3 separate regions of the Homo sapiens genome follow, and regions 1 and 2 are each linked to region 3. Evidence: promoter capture Hi-C in human tissues and cell types (Jung and others, 2019). All regions are on one chromosome and are shown on one strand. Each heading gives the region's core, a stretch centred on a gene start or on the middle of the fragment in contact. The rest is flanking DNA. Distances are from core to core; before and after follow the strand shown. Region 1 overlaps LOC105375416 (a long non-coding RNA gene). Region 2 overlaps LOC105375416 (a long non-coding RNA gene). Region 3 holds the start of SLC25A13 (solute carrier family 25 member 13).

Region 1 (4,239 bases), core at 372-2,871, 1.0 Mb before region 3:
GGCAAGAAATGTAACAATGTGTGAGGGAACCGGAACTAGGGAAGAGTAGGAAAACAATATGAGAGGCCTGGCTCTGGATGCAGTAATCTGGTGAGTTTCAGTTCTTTGATACTTTTTGAGAGGCCTGGGGGTTATTTCCTGAGGAAAGAATTCAGATAAAACAATTGTGGGTTGGCCAGGCGCGGTGGCTCACGCCTATAATCCCAGCACTTTGGGAGGCTGAGGCGGGCGGATCACGAGGTCAGGAGATCTAGACTATCCTGGCTAACACTGTGAAACCCCGCCTCTACTAAAAATACAAAAAAGAAAATTAGCGACGCGTTGTGGCGGGCGCCTATAGTCCCAGCCACTCGGGAGGCTGAGGCAGGAGAATGCGTGAACCCAGGAGGTAGAGTTTGCAGTGAGCCGAGATTGCGCCACTGTACTCCATCCTGGGTGATAGAGCGAGACTCTGTCTCAAAAACAAAACAAAACAAAACAAAACAAACAAACAAAAAAAAACAGTTGTGAGTTTCAAGCTGTAAGACCAGAGGGGTCAATTTCTACGTTTATCCAAAAGAACCCTCTGTGGGACTATTGGGTCGGTTTCAGTTGCACAAGTGTGAATGTACTGAATTGTACACTCAAAAAACTTTAAAATAGTAAATTCAATGTTACGCATATTTTACTACAATAAAAAATGTTGAATCCATTATCTTTATTTCCACACATCCTCTTGCCCATTCTCCACAGACAGTTTTAAAATGTAAAGTAGGTTTTGTCTCTATGCTGTTGAAAGCTCTCCAGGGATTTTCAATTATATTTAAAATGAATCTCCATTCCTTTTCAGGCCCCCTGGCCCCATAGGCCTTGATTCTCTGACCCTACCCCTTCTCTATCACTCCCCCTAGCTGGCCTTGCTGCCCCCTAAATGTGCAAAGCTCAGTTGTGCTCGAGGTCTTTACATTTCCTTTTCTCTGCATGAAACACTCTTAGCCCCAGAGTTTCACAGGACTTGCCTTACCTTTCAATCAAGTCTCTACTCAAATGTCACCTTCCCTGACCACTAACCTAAGCTAGCACCTCCTTCACCCCTACCCAGTCATTTTTTATTTTCTCACCCTGCTTTAATTTCTTCAAGGCACTTGTCATTATCTGAAATTATGTTATTTATTGCCTTATCTTTTTATTTTCTAAGTCCTCCACTAGACTGAGGGTAGAGTCTTTTCAGCACCATATCATCATCACCTAAAACAGTAACTGGCACATCATAGGCATTTTATGAATATTATTTGAATGAATTAGTTCTGAGAGTAGAAATCCTGCTTTTCTGAAACAGACTCCATTTAAAACCAACCAAACTAGTGTGAATTGAAGCTTACTTAAAGTGGATCAGCTTGTGTGATGGACATGGAGAAGCACCCTTCTAAAAGGGATTGTGGCCCCGCTGCTGGAAGAATGATGTCAGCAGATAGTCTTTTGCTGTAGATTGCTTCAGGGATTGCTCCAGCTGCAGGGGGCCACCTGGTCAAAAGTCAAGTATTTCCTGGGACGCCAACACCCAGTGATTGACGGAGATAGGAAGTATAAGGACACAGCCAATTCCTCCCAATGCAGGCCAACTCTGAAGGGCCATCTTAGCTCTACTGCAAGCTGGAGGATTGGCAGAGGCTGTCCTCAGGCCTGCCTCACAGCTTAACATCTCCCTGTGCCCACACTTGTTCTACCCCTTGTTTCCACAGGTGTTAATTTCCAAAGTGTGACTCCCTAATAAACAGCCTGCACACTAACCTCCGTCTCAGCATCTGTTTTCCTGGGAACCCAACCTGGAACCACTGTATGCATAGGATGAATATGAAAGGACCACATCCCAAACTTGTCCCCTTGAGTTACAGGTAAAAAAAATATAGTGTGTATCAACTTTGGTGAAAGCCTGAAACCAATCAGACACTTCATAGTAATGCTGGTAGGGCTGGAGAAAGTTTTAGTGGTGTCAGATTTTTTCCCCACTCAGTAAGGTTTGTTCATAATCTTTCTGGGGTCTAGGGTTGTGTTCATTTCATTATTTTATTTATGTTAGCTCTATATTGTCCACCATCTGATTTGTGAGAAGGAACTAAATAAAGCAAGTGATTTACCCTTAGAGGTGGCAAGTGCCTCATGTCGCCATAAGGCGGAGAGGTGCACAAGGAAAGACACCTGATTGTCGTGGTGCAGAGTGCAGGGGACAAGATGTGGACAGTTTGCTAAGAGGGCGGGTCCAAGGCTTTAACCAGCTCACAGATGAGTTCAGGGATCCCCTGGGTACAACAAAAATGTGGTACATATACACACTTTTCCAGGGGTCCAGATTACCAAGAAAGCTGATTCTCTGAAAAAGGTTAAGAGGACTGGCATGGTAACCATGTCAACTGGACTGCTCCATGGAGTTTCCAAATTAAACGGCATTTCCAAGTGTGTCTGTGAGGTTGTTCCAAATGAAATTAGCATTTGAAACAGTGGACTCACTAAAGTAGATTGCCCTTCTCAATGAAGGTGGGCAACATTCAATGTCTTGAGGCCCTCAAAAGGAGAAAAAAAAAAGGTGGAGGAAGGAGGAATTTACCCCTTTTTATTCCTACATACTTGCTTGAGCTGGGTCATCAGTGTTCTCATTGGACTGAGATTTACACCTTTGGCCCCCTGGTTCTGAGGCCTTTGTTTAAAATAATAATAATAATAAATAATAATATTATTAATTATTATTAATTAATAATAATAATAAATAATAATATTATTAATTATTATTATTAATTAATAATAATAATAAACCAGGCGCAGTGGCTCATGCCTGTAATCCCAGCACTTTGGGAGGCCGAGGTGGGCAGATCATGAGGTCAGGAGATTGAGACCACCCTGGCTAATACAGTGAAACCCTGTCTCTACTAAGAGTACAAAAAATTAGCTGGGTGTGGTGGCACGCACCTGTAGTCCCAGCTACTTGGGAGGCTGAGGCAGGAGAATTGCCTGAGAACCCGGGAGGCAGAAGTTGCAGTGAGCTGAGATCGAGCCACTGTACTCCAGCCTGGGTGACAAAGCAAGACTCCGTCTCAAAAATAAAAAAAAAATAATAATAATACATAGCATTTCTACACGTTTGTGAGGTACGTGTGATATTTTGTTACATATGTAGAATGTGTAATGATAAAGTCAGAGTATTTAGGATATCCATCACCTCAAATATTTATGACTGTGTGTTGGGAACATTTCCAGTCCTCTCTTCTAGCTATTTTGAAATATACAATACATTTTTGTTAACTATCATCACCTTATTCTGCTATCGAACATTAAAACTTATTTCTATAGGTCATAACCAACCCCCGCCCATCCACATATACTTCCTTTCCACCCTCTGACATCTATCATTCTACTCTCTACCTTTAGTTCCCACATACAAGGAATAGCATATGGTATTTGTATGTCTGTGCCTGGCTTATTTTACTTAACATGATGACCTCCAGTCCTATCCATGTTGTTGCAAATTACAGGATTTTACTCTTTTTTTATGGCTAAATGGTATTCCATTGTGTATATATACCACATTTTCTTATTAATAGATTGATTCTATATCTTGGCTATTGTGAATAATGCTGCAATAAACATGGGGTGCAGGTATCCCTTTGATATAATGACTTTCTTTCCTTTGGATAGATACCAAGTAGTGAGCTTGCTGAATTGTACGGTAGTTCTATTTTTAGTTTTTTTTAGAAATCTCTATACTGTTTTCCATAGTAGCTGTACTAATTTATATTTGCACCAACAGTGTTTAAGAGTTCACTTTTCTCTGCATTCTCATCAGCATCTGTTTTGTTTTTTTTGTTTGTTTTTTGTTTTTTTTTTTAATTATACTTTAAGTTCTGGGATACATGTGCAGAACGTGCAGGTTTGTTACATAGGTACACATGTGCCATGGTGGTTTGCTGCACCCATTAACCCATCATCTCCATTAGGTATTTCTCCTGATGCTATCTCTAGCCCCCCAGCCCCCAACAGGCCCTGGTGTGTGATGTTCTACTCCCTGTGTCCATGTGTTCTCATTGTTCAGCTCCCACTTATGAGTGAGAACATGCAGTGTTTAGTTTTCTGTTCTTGTGTTAGTTTGCTGTGAATGATGGTTTCCAGCTTCATCTATGTCCCTGCAAAGGACATGAACTCATCCTTTTTATGGCTGCATAGTATTCCATGGCGTATATGGGCCACATTTTCTTTATTGAGTCTATC
Region 2 (4,322 bases), core at 1,273-3,772, 1.1 Mb before region 3:
TCAGTGAGGTTGTAGAAACTGACAGAGATGGGAGGATTTTTCTGCTGCCCTTCATTCTCACTTCAAAATAATGTTGAAACACTTTCAGGTTTCCTCATTGTTTTTAGCTCTTTGTGGGGTTTTCTTTCTTTCACATGTCTCAACAGCTCTGGGCTCAGAGACTGGGAATGAGAGTCAGAAAGAGGCACCATAACACTTCCCTCTGGTGGGGAGGCACGGCCCTGGGAACAGTCCACCATATTACCTCGGTTAACTGGGTTCACTAGGGAGGTCTCTGGCTGCACACTGAAAGACAACATAATTCTAAGACAGAGGTACCTCTCTCAGGAATTTTGTCAACACTACATGTCCGTTTCTTGCATCAATGCAAAGATTTTATTCTGGGAAAGATGCCAATTTTTTTTTGGCTTTCTGTGTAGATGATAGCCACAATTTCTAAACCTATTTGTTTCCCACAAGAGGCAAAAAGAGCCCATAATTATTTGACGAATGTCAGAAGGTGTGTTTAGCCCCTTATTCAAGCCATAAGGGGGTCTCCTGAACCAACGGCCTGCAAAGCTCCTTTATTCAAAGTGGATCATGCTCCAACCTCTGTTTGTGTGCCAGGTTGATCTGTAGCAAACTATCATGGTCCACAAATCAGTGGCTAAATGTTTAATGTCTAGGATAGGCACACAACCAAAGTCATGGGAAGCATACCTCAGAAAAAAGTTAAACTTGATCTTCAGTGGCATCTTTTTCAGCATATATATAATCCCAGTTGAGTTTCTCCTAAAACCTCCTGTGGATACCCACATAATGTGAACAAGGTTTTAAAAGAATCAGGATGTAAATACTGGGAACATGTAAATTCAAGACCACAGATTACAGCTTTTAGATATCCTCCATGTGAACCTAGAGATTCATAGTAAACAAAAAAGCATAAGATACAACGTTTTAAATATGTGGAACAATAAACAAAACCATTCTTAGGATAGCTATTTTTTTAAACTATACATACAGAGTTAAAATAGATTACTACTTAAATGCATATATTTAATATATTTTTTCATGCTACACTGATAAAATATCCCAGAAACTCAAAGTTTAAAGCCATTGAGATTTCTACTAGTAACTCAAATTGTTGCCAAGTCATTGTGAGTTAGCTGAAGTGTCAGAAAACATGTGCATTTTAGAAATATTTTGGGTTTTCACCAGGCGGAGCTTGCAGTGAGCTGAGATCACGCCACTGCATTCCAGCCTGGGCGACAGAGCGAGACTCCGTCTCAAAATAAATAAATAACTAAGTAAAAATAAAGAAATATTTTGGGCTTTGTTTGTGTTCTCTCGTTTAGGAAACAGCACTTTTAATGTAGCAAAAATGTTCACTAGTTTCTTTTTTTTTTTTTGAGACGGAGTCTCGCTCTGTCACCCAGACTGGAGTGCAGTGGCATGATCTTGGCTCACTGCAACCTCCATCCACCTCCCAGGTTCAAGCGATTCTCCTGCCTCAGCCTCCCAAGTAGCTGGGATTATAGGCACGTGCCACTGTGCCTGGCTAATTTTGTTGTGTTTTTACTAGAGACGGGGTTTCACCATGTTGGCCAGGCTGGTCTCGAACTCCTGACCTTGTGATCAGCCCAGCTCGGACTCCCAAAGTGCTGGAATTACAGGAGTGAGCCACCGTCCCCAGCCACTAGTTTCTTATAATATAATCATGGTTGGAAGGTTTTGGCCTGGACATAGTGAGTTAACAAAAACCTGTTCTATTATCCTTCAGACAACTGTGCCTTACCTCTTCTGGTCGTGCTGTATATGTCTTTGGGCCTGATTTTCCTGTGGGTATAAAGTAAACTTTCCTTCCTTTTCCTCATACATTCTATTTACAAATAAAAAATAAACTCCTTCATAATTAATTGGCAACAATGTCCAAGTAAGAGTTAAGCATATGAAGGATTTAGGGGTTATTTCTCCTACTTCGTGTTACCCAGGCAAAACATATTTGTGGGTTTTGATAACTATGATGAAACTACAGCAAGGCTATTGTAGTGTATGTGTTAGTTCAAGTATATATCCCATTTTGAATTTTTAAAATCAGGGAGCTATCTTCCTGGAATGGTCACAGTACAAATACTGTTGCCTTAAATTTTTTCATTTAACCTTCACCAAAAAGCATTATGTAGGGCTAGGATATTGGGAAAGTCAGGGTTTGTTATATACTTCATCAGTCATCCAAACTTCAGTGAGTTCCCTTAAGTGTTTGCCATTGGGTAGGAAATAGTGAAGATTTATTCTAAACCTGAAAAGTAAAAAAAAAAAAAAAATCATGATTATAAGGGAATATACATGATACATCATGAGGTAAGTCACTAGGAGCAGAAAGCTTATTAAATCTCCAGTTGAAAATGTATCTATGTTGGAAAAAAACAGACATTCTGATTTTCAGTTTTTCCCTCAGGCACAAGCTTAGTCACAGCTTCGTCTGTAAAGATACTGGTCATATTCATTGTATTTTGGAAAAGTACAGGTGTACATAAAGCCACTATATCTTTAAAATATATAAATAAGTAACTTTTCCTGACAAGTTTTAAAATGTAAGACATGTGATAGAACAGTTTTCCTCAATTATATGATTTTATTTTCCACAGCGGTACAGTTGTATAGTTTTCCCTGTTGTCATTTTACACATCAGTTCTGTTGACACTTGCCACCATTCTTTTTTTCTAGAGTTCCAGGAATTTGCCTTTGGAACTTTTTCCTAACTCAGTCTTCAGATACAACTTTATTACATTTTATTTTTAAATTATTATATATTATTATTAAAATACTACAAAAAATTATTACATATTACATTATTAAGGTAAAAAGAATTCAGCCAACAGAACATTCTTTAACTGTATCAATCCAATTAATTAAATTTAATAAATTCATTCTATACATTAAATTGCAAAAAAATGCTAAAACAAAAATTGCAAATTATTTTATTATTAGATTAGATTATTGAACTTAGTTGTACACTCCAACATACGTGGAAAAAAATAGACATTTAAAGGTAGTGAATGAAAAGATGGGAAATTATGCTTTAGGCAAATACCAACCAAAGCATTGTGGTATAGGCAAAATGCTATCAAACAAAATAGACTTTAAGACAAAGGTAGCATGAAAATAACGGGATCCCACATATATGAAATTTTTAATTCACCAAGAAGAGATAATCTGACATCATATATACCCAATGACATAGCTTAAAATACACAGAGCAAAATTTGACAAAATTAAAAGGATGAAATGAATGCACCAGCATGGTGAGAGATTATATCAGACATATTTCAGTAACTGACTTAAAGCGTAGGCAAGGAGAAATCACAAAGGATGAGGATTTGAACAGCACAATTTAAAACCTTATTCTAGTGTACATATATAGAATGCTGTACTCCCTGTTTGAGAGTACACATTCTTTTCAAGCATACATGGAATGTTTTTAAAGAATACATTATGAACTGTACTTAAAGAAATGTCACCTAATTTCAAAAACCTGTATCATACATGTCTTAATATTGGACTTCCCAAAAATTGAATTAGATAATAATTACCAGAAAGGTATCTTTAAAAATCTACATATTTCAAATCTACACTTGGAATTTAAACATATGCCTTAATTACCCATGGTTAAAAGAAGAAACTACAATGGAAATATAAAATAGTTAGAACCACAAATCTAAATGAAGGAATTATATATAAAAACTTGCAGGATCCAACTAAAGCGTCTTTGTATTAAGGGAATGTTTTACCACTTTAGAAAAGAAGTCTAAAAATGAAAAAGGTGCTGTAAGTACCTAGGCTGCAGAAATCATGCAGAAGCTACTGTGAACAACTATAAGGAAATAAATTTGAAACAGGTGGAATGGTCCAAGACCTAGAATGATACAAGTCACTAAAACTGACCTATGAGGAAATAGTAAATCCAAATAGCCTATAACTGTATCAGTCAGGGTCCATTCAAGGAAGCAGAAAATTTTAACATCAGGAATTGTTTAAAGAGGCTTTAGGACAACTGAAAGAGCAGAAGGAGACCTCTGAGGTGACCCAGGGATGCTAGTTGCAGGCAGCATCTGCTACTCCTGGAGCTGAATGTGAAAAGGAAGAGTGGGGGTTCTCCCAATTTAACAGCTTGGAGCAGGACTCTGCAGAGGTGGGACCCAGACCTCTGGTAAGAAGGTATTGTCCAGCTGGTGCTGGTATTTGGGAGTTCAGAGGAAGCAGTCCTGCTTCCAGCCAGCTGATGTTGGTATCTCTGAGGGGACACAGTGAGGCTAATTCTGAGACTATAGAAGAAACTGGAA
Region 3 (4,731 bases), core at 1,163-3,662:
TTGTCATAATTTTCTCTAACAATTCTCCTGGTTTTCCTTTTGTCTTTTTTTTTTTTTTACTTTTTGCTGATCTTTCTTCTCTGCCTATGAACATGGTCAAGTCTTCTGGGCTTTGTTGAACCTTTTGAGAGTAGGTTAAATAGTTGCTTCTTTCTGTAATGCTTCTTTCTTAAGCTTCTACAACATAATTTGTATGTTGGACATACATTCTCCTTACAGACAGACTCACACACCTCAAAACACTCCTCTTGAATTACCAATCTCAGGTGTTTTTCCAGACACCCATACCACAAGTCTATGTGCAATATGGCACAACTCCCTTTTTCCGTCCCAACCCCACTAATTTTACCTTCTATGTATTCCTCTAGTCCTAGCCCATCCCCAGCCTGTCTCGTCTGGACATCCTGGTAGTTCAGTTGGAACCCATCCTCCATACTGCAAGCAGTGTTTTAGTCCATTTTGTGTTGCTGTAAGGGAATTCCTGAGACTAGAAGAACAGGACGGAAATGTATTTCTCACAGTTCTAGACGCTAGGAAGTCCAAGATCAAAGTGCTGGCAGGTTACGGCCTGGTTTCTCTGCTTCCAAGATGGCTCTTTGAATGCTGTGTCCTTCAAAGGTGAGGAATGCTATGTTCTTATATGGCAAAAGAGCAGAAGAGCAAGAGAGAGTGAACCCACTCCCCAAACCTCTTTTTATGGCAGCATTAATCCATTTATGAGGGCAGAGCCCTTGTGATGAAAATACCTCCCCAAGGACCCAACCTTCCAACACTGATGCATTAGAGATTGTATCCAACACATCAATTTTGGGGGGCACATTCAGACCATAGAGAGATCTTTCTATATCGAAAACCTAGTCATGCTGCTTCCTGACTTAAAACCCTTCAGTTAAGGTGCATACCCTTCAGCAAGGCGCCTAAGACCCACCATGACACAGCCCCTACCTGCTGGGCCAGACTCCTTCCACTAGTCGTGCCACTGCCCCAATCCCATAGCTCAAGATCAAGTTACCTTTTGATATGGTTTGACCGTGTCACTACCCAAATCTCATCTTAAATTGTAGTTCCCATAATCCCCACATGTCATGGGAAGGACCCGGTGAGAGACAACGGAATCATGGGGGCGGTTACTCCCATGCTGTTCTTGTGATAGTGAGTTCTTATGAGATCTGATGGTTTTACAAGGGGCTTTCCCCCCTTTGCTTGGCACTCATTCTCTCTCCTGCAACCCTGTAAAGAGGTGCCTTCCACCACAACTGTAAGTTTCCTGAGGTCTCCCAAACCATGCGAAACTGAGTCAATTAAATCTTTTGGTTTATAAATTACCCAGTCTCAGGTATTTCTTCATAGTGGCATGAGAATTCTCAGTATTCTTATTGAGCCCTGGGAACAGTCTGCTGCCTTAACAGGTTATACTGAAGTAAACATTTATGTGTCTCTTTCCCAATAGCCCTGAAGCTGTTTAACGGTTGGAACCAGTTCTTAAGTCATTTCGGGGTTTCCAGCACCAAGCACAGTGCCTAGCACATAGTAGGAAGGCACTCAATCAACGTTAATGAATTAAACTGATTAGTAATAAGTGCTTTTTGCTGCCATATTACATCCACAACCTACAATACATTAAAAGTCCTTTTCCCTGATCACCACTGTCTTATAAATTTTGATTACAAGGACAGAAGAATGAAATCCTGATGAAGAGGAGTAAGGCCTGGAGGTCATATAAGCAAATTTTCATTAAAATGCTTGTTTATTTATTTTAGTAGGGCCTATTTGGGGGAAGTCTTTTGACCCGGGCCTTTTGACTTCTACCGTTTTAACAGGTAGGGCTGAAATGGAGTAGTTTCATGAATATACGTTCTGCACTACATTCACTTGTTGGGTTCTTAAGAGTTCACCGATTTTGATCTAAAAGTAGGCGTGCCAGCAATATTTGCAATCTCGCCTTCTAAGTCAATGCTTTTGGATCAAAGTCTTTTTGGATCCAGTGTAAAGTGGAGCTCCTTCAAAGGGAACGCACAGGGGAAAAAATATCCAGCAAAGTATGTGTCCTAGTGGAGTTCTCAACTTCCCCAGGCCGTGCACCATCTGTCGTTACTTGCCCCTCCCATCGGTCCGAGGGCCCAGTAGCCCCTGGTATCAGCAGAAGCCAGCAGCTTCCCTGGTGGGGCCACCTGCCCTCAGGTGACGGGCTTGCACACGGCCAAGTTACCTCTGCCCACGCCGCAGAGGCCGCCGCTGCTGGACAGCGCAGCGGGGTCACGTGTCCCTGTCCAGCCACTGCCCCAGGATCTGAGCCCTCCCCGGCTGCAGGGCAGAGGCCGCTGGATCACGCGCACCCCGGCGGCCAAGGCTGGGCCCAGCCAATGGGCGGGCAGCATCCACATGACCCGCGCCGGCGGGAGGGCGTGGGGAGGCAGGCCAGGAACGCACGCTGCCTGGCCGTATCGCCGCCCCCACCGCCGCCGCCGCCGGGACTAGAAGTGAGCCGCCCGGGTCCCAAACGCCAGCCAGCCAGTCAGTGGGTCCCGCAGTCGCCCGCAACCGGGGCGAATCATGGCGGCCGCCAAGGTAACCGCGGGCCCGAGGCCGGGGGGAGCGCGCCTGCCGGATCAGCCTGGGGGTGCGAGAGGCTCGGGCGCTCACGTGTCTGGGTTGGTGCCACAGGCGGAGCAAAATGGGGTGCCGGGCAGCCGTTCCACCTTGCGGCTGCTGGAGGGAGGGGGCCACTCCTCCCGGGCAGCACAGGCGGTCGGTGCAGAGACCGAGGCCCGACCTCGCAGCGGAAACTTTGTGGGCCGGACACTCCCACTTGGCCGGGGAGGGAAGTTGGTGCCTGACGGGGCTGAGCCAGGGCCGACGAGGAGGAGCGGGCGCGACTGGGGCCTGGTGCACCCTGGGCCGGCAAGCGCTGGGGGTCCTCTCTACCTTCCCAGCGCGCTCCTGCTCCTGACCCCGCTGGTTGTTGACTCCGGCTTCTTCCAGGGGCCAGAGCCCGGGCTGAAGCCTGATCCTATTACGTTTCAAGGGCTCCGCCCTCCCGCGGGTGGGGAAGTTACTTTGACTTCCGTTTTGGAAACTGCCTAGGAGACTTGGTCTGCGCCTTTGTGAATAAAAAGTCCAGGGACTCTCCCCCTCCCCGCTTTCCCATCATTCCCATCTTCCCCCTCCCTCTCTCCATCTGACAACACTTAGATACCCGCCTCGGAGCATTTGAGAGGCTTCTTTTTGGGAACGATGAAACAGATTGTCCTGGGAGCCTGTCACTCCTGTGAAGTTGTACTTGAAAGGGGTTCTGTGTAATGTGAATCATTCACTAACCCAGAGGAAAGGCAACTCCAACACTTGACCTTTCCTCTTTCACCATTTCTTGAAACCTGGACACCATTTCAGTCTCTTTGGACTGCATTTCAACTTCTCTGGCAGAATACCATATTTAGTCCCAATCACTTGAATCATTTGGAATTTATTGCTTTTAATTTAAGTTCACGAAGGCAGCCCTCTAATCAAGCCTATACAACTTCTTAGCTCATTTTAAGTGCAGTGAACTTAAATATACCTAACATTTCAAACATTTGTCCTTAATCAAAACTCTGTGATAACCCTCAAGAGGAAAACATGGCCAACACATCATATTCCTATTTATTCAAGCAAACTAATCACATTTGCAATGGAAATTGTAAGCAGACAAATATATTTAAATGCTGTTCTATGACTTAAGTCTCTCCAGGCTCCCCAAATCCGTAGGCTTCTTCATGTTGTTAGTTTCTGTGGTCTAAGTGGCATTTCTCTTTTCTGTAATTACTCTGAGTTTCATCCTTAGGAAAGTACTCTGGGTGTGTGGGCTCATGTATGTTTGCATATGAACACACAGGTGTGCGTGTGTATATCTATCTATAACTTTTCAGCAGTTTCTCTGAGCATCACTAGGATTCAATTTTGGAAGCTGCCTTAACCCTTTCAAGCCCAATAGCCCTTGACCTTTTTTTTGCATTAAATTTGCATGCAACCAAGGTACAAGGCTTGGTATGAACTAATTCCCTAGAGTAGGTGGGACTAGGTACCCATTCTTTACTGTTAGTTTTATATCTGCAGGTAATGTAAATACTTTTACTTTATTAGGAGATAAGGTAATTGAGGAACATAAATTGAGACGTGTGCATAGAAATGGAGTATAAGACTTGAGTAATATTAAGTAAAATAAGTGACCTGGTGCTGTGGCTCATGCCTGTAATCCCAGCACTTTGGGAGGCTGGGGCGGGCGGGTCAGTTGAGGCCAGGAGTTCGAGACCAGCCTGGCCAACGTGGCAAAACCCTGTCTCTACTAAAAATACAAAAAAGTTAGCTAGGCGTGCTGGTGGGCACCTGTAATCCCAGCTACTCAGGATGCTGAGGCAGAAGAATCGCTTAAACTCAGGAGGCGGAGATTGCAGTGAGCCGAGATTGTGCCATTGCACTCCAGTCTGGGCAACAGAGCAAGACCCTGTCTCAAAAACAAATAACAACAACGACAAAACATAAAATAAGTGATATGGAAGTTAGTTCAACTCTTTGGTTGTACTTCTACATAATAGTAGAAGTGTCACATATCAAGGGCAGTTGATTTTTAGCTAAGTATTGAGTCAGGGAAAATGAAATGTTCATTTTTACTACTTGGGAGCTTGTGTTTTTGTTTATGTCTTCATTTGCACTCACCTCTTTCTGTGATATCTGATGGCTCACATCATATATACT

Evidence for each region. The method cuts DNA at HindIII sites, captures the fragments that hold promoters and counts their contacts. A contact is called where the count stands out against the background at its distance.
Region 1: a fragment that was not itself captured here is called in contact with the fragment with the promoter of SLC25A13 in region 3 in 1 of the 25 tissues and cell types used here (dorsolateral prefrontal cortex).
Region 2: a fragment that was not itself captured here is called in contact with the fragment with the promoter of SLC25A13 in region 3 in 1 of the 25 tissues and cell types used here (dorsolateral prefrontal cortex).

Annotation. Positions count from the first base shown.
Region 1 is chr7:97,367,961-97,372,199 of GRCh38, reverse strand. All of the region lies in intron 2 of LOC105375416 (a long non-coding RNA gene), which reads left to right. Among named protein-coding and RNA genes, the nearest start is that of SDHAF3, 250 kb to the right of the region's middle. The HindIII fragment of the contact is 3,688 bases long and covers 1-3,465 here.
Region 2 is chr7:97,397,641-97,401,962 of GRCh38, reverse strand. The region is part of intron 2 of LOC105375416 (a long non-coding RNA gene); the gene reads left to right. Among named protein-coding and RNA genes, the nearest start is that of SDHAF3, 280 kb to the right of the region's middle. RefSeq lists enhancers at 373-1,572, 4,201-4,322. The HindIII fragment of the contact is 5,687 bases long and covers 1-4,322 here.
Region 3 is chr7:96,319,779-96,324,509 of GRCh38, reverse strand. SLC25A13 (solute carrier family 25 member 13) reads left to right here and starts at 2,412. Exons shown (of 18, transcript NM_014251.3): 1 at 2,412-2,568. The coding sequence starts at 2,554. RefSeq lists a silencer at 2,277-2,616. The HindIII fragment of the contact is 12,396 bases long and covers 1-4,731 here.